2 separate regions of the Homo sapiens genome follow, and region 1 is linked to region 2. Evidence: promoter capture Hi-C in human tissues and cell types (Jung and others, 2019). All regions are on one chromosome and are shown on one strand. The core of a region is centred on a gene start or on the middle of the fragment in contact, and the rest is flanking DNA. Distances in the headings are between cores, read along the strand shown.

What was found. Contacts are between HindIII fragments. The study calls those that stand out against the background at their distance.
Region 1: a contact is called between a fragment that was not itself captured here and the fragment with the promoter of OR10G3 in region 2, in 2 of the 25 tissues and cell types used here (mesendoderm cells and thymus).

What each region holds. Positions count from the first base shown.
Region 1 is chr14:21,623,581-21,626,702 of GRCh38, reverse strand. It overlaps TRA. Among named protein-coding and RNA genes, the nearest start is that of OR10G2, 9.8 kb to the left of the region's middle. The HindIII fragment of the contact is 5,146 bases long and covers 1-3,122 here.
Region 2 is chr14:21,578,630-21,581,872 of GRCh38, reverse strand. It overlaps OR10G3 (olfactory receptor family 10 subfamily G member 3), which reads left to right and starts at 1,797. Exons shown (of 2, transcript NM_001005465.2): 1 at 1,797-2,087. The HindIII fragment of the contact is 16,961 bases long and covers 1,591-3,243 here.

The sequences.
Region 1 (3,122 bases), core at 568-3,067, 45 kb before region 2:
AAGATGACAAATAGGAAAATTATGTGCTTGCACTTGCTCAAAAGCCACACAGAACACTGCCTGGCAGAACATTCAACCAAGGCTGTGTTTCGTCCTCATTTTCTTTTTTTTTTTTTTTTAGATAGAGTCTCACTCTGTTGCCCAGGCTGGAGTGTAGTGGCACCATCTCAGCTCACTGCAACCTCCACCTCCCAGGTTCAAGCGATTCTCCAGCCTCAACCTCCCAAGTACGTGGGATTACAGGTGCACGCCACCACGCCCAGCTAATTTCTGTGTTTTTAGTAGAAACGGGGTTTCACCATATTGGCCAGGCTGGTCTCAAACTCCTGACCTTGTTATCTGCCCATCTCGGCCTCCCAAAGTGCTGGGATTACAGGCGTGAGCCATTCGTCCTCATTTTCTATCTGGAATTGAGATTCCTCATTTAGGAAAAAAGACAGGGTTTCAAAAGGGTACTGGCAGAGTCCAGCTTAGAGTTTTACTCCACCTCATAAACTGATCCCTCAAAATGTCAGCTTTTGTCTGTGCCTTTACCCTTGGTTCAGTATCCAAACCACAGCCTCAAGGGTTGCCTGAGAAGGGTTATGTGTGCATTCTGGGCCTCCAGCGCTCATGTCCTAAATCCAGTGGTACACAGCACACTCCTTATTTCCCATCCAAATTCATATTATCAAATCTCTTAAGGATTTTTCTTAGAAAAAGATCCAACTATTCCTTCAAAATTTTTAAACTCTTCTTAATGAAGATCTTGGTTTTTGTATTTCTTCCAACTGACCTCCTTCACTTCCCTGTACCCCTGAGTACATGTGCAAATCACTCTTAAGGCACATGGATGGTGCTGATTTTCCAAAAAGCAATAGATAGCCTACTCAAAACATGATAATTTGCGGAGAGTTTTCTCTGCATAGGAACTATGTACAAAGATATGGGAGTAGAGAAACCACAAGAAACAATTGAATAACCTAGGGCTCAGTAACACCTAAATTATTTACCACCATTAAGCCAAAAGAAACAAGAGAGGTATCTAAGTTTTCCTGAGTTATGTATGTAATAGTGAACAGTTCACCTCCAAGATAGAGTGTAGTCTTCTTGATGCAAGCTTCTTCCACCTGTGTTCTCTTGGTTATCTTCCTTAGGAACTAGAACTAAAGCGAGGTTAATTTCCACAGTGAGAACATGCTCCAGACATCCGAGCACCAGTGTGGCTCTGGAAACTCCACAGATACCACAGGACTAGAAAATAACTGGACAATGGGATGTTCTATCTTGCCCGAACTGAGGGATATAAAAAGCTCCAAAGGTAAGATCTCAAGGCAAGAGACATTGAAGCTGGACTCATCCCCAACTACTCAAGAAAACAAGGTCAAAGAGATGCTCAAAAATCAGAGCTTTACTCAAACATTGTAGAAGATAGTTAGATTTGATACATGTCAAATTCCTTCCAATCCTTCCTATGTTTCTTTCATTCTGTGAGATTTTATCTGAACACCCTGTGAAGCTTGGATTTGAACTTAGAAATATCTAACTCCGAAGTCCAAACACAGCTACTGCTCTTTGAACATGACAAGAGAGCTGGGTTCCCAGTTTGATCTACAATAATTCGAAAAACCTTGTCTCCTATCCTCTGGTAATGGCTTGCTCCAACATCTAGCATTCAACCACCTTCTAGGTGGAAATGAAAGAAGTTGCTGGGTTAAAGAGAAACTCTACTAGCAGAGAGAGAAAGTAACAAAGAATGGTACTCTTTCTTCTTGAAAATCTCTGTGGCAGAAAAACATGTTATCTAAAAACTTAAGGCTTGGCTGGGCATGGTGGCTCATGCCTATAGTTCCAACACTTTGGGAGGCCAAGGTGGGTGGATCACTTGAGGTCAGGAGTTCGAGATCAGCCTGGCCAACATGGTGAAACCCCATCTCTACTAAAAATACAAAAGTTAGCCAGGCATGGTGGCATACCTGTAATCCCAGCTACTTGGGAGGCTGAGGCATGAGAATCACTTGAACCTGGGAGGCAGAGGTTGCAGTGAGCCAAGATAGCACCTCTGCACTCCAGCCTAGGCGACAGAGTGAGACTCCATCTCAAAAAAAAAAATTAAGACTTTAGGAGAAAATAGATATGAAAACAAGGTCAAAATGAACCTATAAAAGTTCTTACGGATACTCTTCATGGTCACTAAATTAAAAAGATAAAAAGATAGCATACTGATTAAGGAGAATATCAGTAACTTACACGTCTTCAAATTTAAGATAATTGATTTTGTATAGTTCATTTCCATTGACCATTCACTCCTTGCTGAAAGTTTTTTAGACTTTATCTCCTTCTTGATTTCAATGAAGCACTCGAAATTTTTTTCATTTTTACAAATAACTCACATGTTAAAGGTCATTTGCCTCAGTGTTAGATTCTCCATTCAAACGTTCAGTATCTTTCTGATTTTATATAGAGTCCCACTATAGACACAGCTACATTTGAATAATTTGAAAGACTGAGATTCTTTGGATAACTTGACTTGCAGTCTTATAACTATCCAATGTTATACAGCCCTTATTCAGCTGATGATTAATTTATATTATAAAATTATAACAAGCACAGGACATCAGCATTGCTTACATACATCTCAGCTCTCTTCCTATTAAAGAAAATGAAGCTGAGTTCTGAGGGTCAAATGTATTTTCCCTGTGCTTTCAAAGTCTGCTAAAACATCTACTTACTCTCTCTCTTCACAAGAACATAAGCAACCTCAGTGCAGGTATGTTTTATTTAGTGATGCACCATAGCAATTGAAAGAGTGCCTAGCACATATAAGTATTCAGTAAAATATTTGTTGAGTGAAAACCATCCACTCTACCTTTCTACTCCCTACCACCAAGTCCCTCTTATTCTGTTTACCCCAAAATAAGTCATTAAAAATTAGCTAATAGAGGTCGGCGCAGTGGCTCACGCCTGTAATCCCAGCACTTTGGGAGGCCGAGGCTGGTGGATCATGAGGTCAGGAGACCAAGACCATCCTGGCTAATACGGTAAAACTCCCTTTCTACTAAAAATAGAAAAAATTAGCCAGGCGTGGTGGCCGATGCCTGTAGGCCCAGCTACTCAGGAGGCTGAGGCAGGAGAATGGCGTG
Region 2 (3,243 bases), core at 548-3,047:
CTGCCCAAGTAGCCGGGACCATAGGCATGTGCTACCACATCTGGCTAATTTTTTTTTTTTTTTTTTTTTTGGTAGAGAAAGGGTCTCACTATATTCACTATGCTGTTCTTGAACTCCTGGGCTCCACCTTCGCCTCCCAAAGTGCTGGGATTACAGGCATGAGCCACTGCACCCTGCTAGAACTTACATTTCTTAAGTTGTTGAAAAAAGCAAAATGAAAATAATATTTCATGATACATGAAAATTATGACATTCAAATTATAGTATCTATAAGTAAAGTATATAATTAAGTAAATAAATAAAACCATGCCGGGGTTGGGCTAGGTGGCTCACTCCTGTAATCCCAGCACTTTGGGAGGCTGAGGCGGGCAGATTGCCTGGGGTCAGGAGTTCTAGTCCAGCCTGGCCAACATGGTAAAACCCTGTTTCTACTAAAAGTACAAAAATTAGCTGGGCATGGTGGTAGGTGCCTGTGATCCCAACTACTCGTGAGGCTGAGGCAGGAGAATCACTTGAACTCCGGAGGCAAAGGTTGTAGTGAGCCGTGATCACACCACTGCACTCCAGCCTGGGCAACAGAGTGAGACTCCGTTTCAAAAAAAAAAAAAACCCATGCCCATTTGTATGTGTATTTTATGGCTGCTTTCCCATACAATGGCAGAGTTGAGTAGCTGCAACAGAGACTGTATGGTCCTCAAGGCCAAAAACATTTATTATCTGCCTCTTTAGAGAGAAAGTGTGCTTTCCTCTGCTTTAGACACTTTAACACAATTGTGGCTTGGAAGCTACAGAGACCTCCACAAAAGTTTGGTGGAAAAAATAATAAAACTAAACCATATTCAAGATGTTCTTTTACAACACAGACCATCTCTGGACATTTGAAGACAGTTGGGAAAAATGTTGCGACAACACCAAATTTAAGTCTAGAAGAAAATAAGTTAGACCAAATTCAAAGTATTCAAGGAAACAAGACCAAGAAATACTAAGAAAAATAACAGGCCGGGGGCAGTGGCTTGCACCTGTAGTCCCAGCATTTTGGGAGGTAGAGGGAGGAGGATCACTTGAGCCCAGGAGTTCAAGACCAGCCTGAGCAATCTAGTGAGACCTCGTCTCTACGAAAAATTTAAAAATTAGTCAGGTGTGGTGGTATGTGCCTGTAGTCCCAGCCACTTGGGAGGCTGAGGTGGAAGAATCGCTTGAGCCTAGGAGGATGAGGCTGCAGTGAGCCGTGATCACGTCGCTGCACTCCAGCCTGAGCGACAGAGCAAGACCCTGTCTCAAAAAATAAATAAATAAATAAAATTGTAAAATTAAAAAAGAAAAATCACTGTTCAGGGAGCTTGACTTAAAACATTACAGATGATAGTTGGATCAGATGACCTCTAATGTCCCTCCAACCCTGAAATTCTGTTTCTTCTAGTCTGTGAAGGTCTATGTTAGCACCTTAGTAATTCAAAGTGTGAATTTCTTAAAATGTGAATGCACCAATAAGAACACATCTCTTGCCAAGTAACAACCATGTTAGCTTTTTCTTCTCTTTTTTTCCAAATTTGCTTTGGAACAGAAAGAAAACCACAGATCTGAAGATTTCAACGAGACCTGTTAAGCCCCACAGACTTTGTCGCACCTGCTGTTACAAAATTGGAAAAAGCTAGAAACCCAGAGAGTCTCCTAGGAAACAAACTATGGATATTGGTCTTGCCTATCACAGGAGTGCTATTACAATATTCCCCAAGCTAAAGGTCTCACACATAAAAACTGACTCTGAGGGAAATAGAAGAAGTAGTAGAACACAGGAGAGACCAACCTTAACAGTTATCTTCAGTAAGAGCCACAGCTCCTCCCCCAGTTCATAAGGAAGCTGGAAGCAGATATCTCTACAAATAAGCAGGCAAATAATAAATTAAGTTTCCATAGTTTGACTCTTTACTTTGATCCAGCCAAAAGTAATTAGTTGGGTCTTCTGCCACGAGCTCTTCACAATAATTGCTGCTGACCTATGAGATATTCAAGATTCCTTAGGAATAGATTTGTATCCTTTCTCTCCGTCTGCAAGAAGAGTTTTTGATGGATGCTGACACCTTCAGGTGAGTTCCTCTTCTCAAAATAGCACCTGCCACTGTTCTAATCCCATTTTTCAGAGATAAATGTTAAGTCCAAACATTGTGTAAGGGGTTTCTCTACTCTGAGTCACTTCATCTCTCAATATTCTTACTTGTTTAGTTACTCAGTATAGTTCTTTTTCTGCTGTCACAAAAATTTTCTTTGCTGTTCTGCTCATATGACTATGTAACTACCATTTAGCCTTTTTATAAATAGTGGCTAATAGGCCAAGCATGTTGGCTCACACCTGTAATCCCAGCACTTTGGGATGCCAAGACGGGCGGATCACCTGAGGTCAGGAGTTCAAGACCAGCCTAACCAACATGGTAAAACCCCATCTCTACTAAAAATACAAAAATTAGCTGGGGGTGGTGGTACACGCCTGTAATCCCAGCTACTTGGGAGGCTGAGGCAGGAGAATCACTTGAACCTGAGAGATGGAGGTTGCAGTGAGCCAAGATGGCACAACTGCATTCCAGCCTGGGCAACAGAGAGAGACTCCATCTCAAAAATAAAAATTAAAATTAAAAAAATTAAAAAATTAAAAAATAGTGGCTAATATTGGATAACACTATTTCCCCCAGGCCTTTAATTGGCTAAATTTTTCTCCAAAGCTATTCTCCATTAAAAGTCCATTCACTGGTTTTAATACCAACCAGACTAGGAAGAGCATCTTCGAGTTCTGTGGTGGTGCCACCCTTGCTCTGTTCTTTTTGTCCTCACCAGGTCCCTTCCACCTATAAGACAAGTTCTCTGCCCAAAATTTGAAAAATGGACATGAGTAAAGCTATAACCTGATTTCTTTGTTGGCAAATATTTTAAACAGACAATTCTAACTCATTGCTAATAAGGGTTTTACATTTTAATAGAAATTGTCTCATGTCTCTCAATTTAATAACTCAAACTTTTCTCATATTATATATGTATATATTTGTTCCATTGTTATTCATCTTTAAATTATTTTCCATTTTATATGTCTTATTGTGAAATTTATTTTAAAAAGAAATTAATTATATTAGTTTTCCAAATATTTGAAATGCTTTTTATAAATAAAAAAGTGTGCTTTGAGTCGATTTTCAGAAAATAATAAAATTTTTAAAGTTTTCTTCATGGCCATTTGAAAGATGGGTTAGGGATACA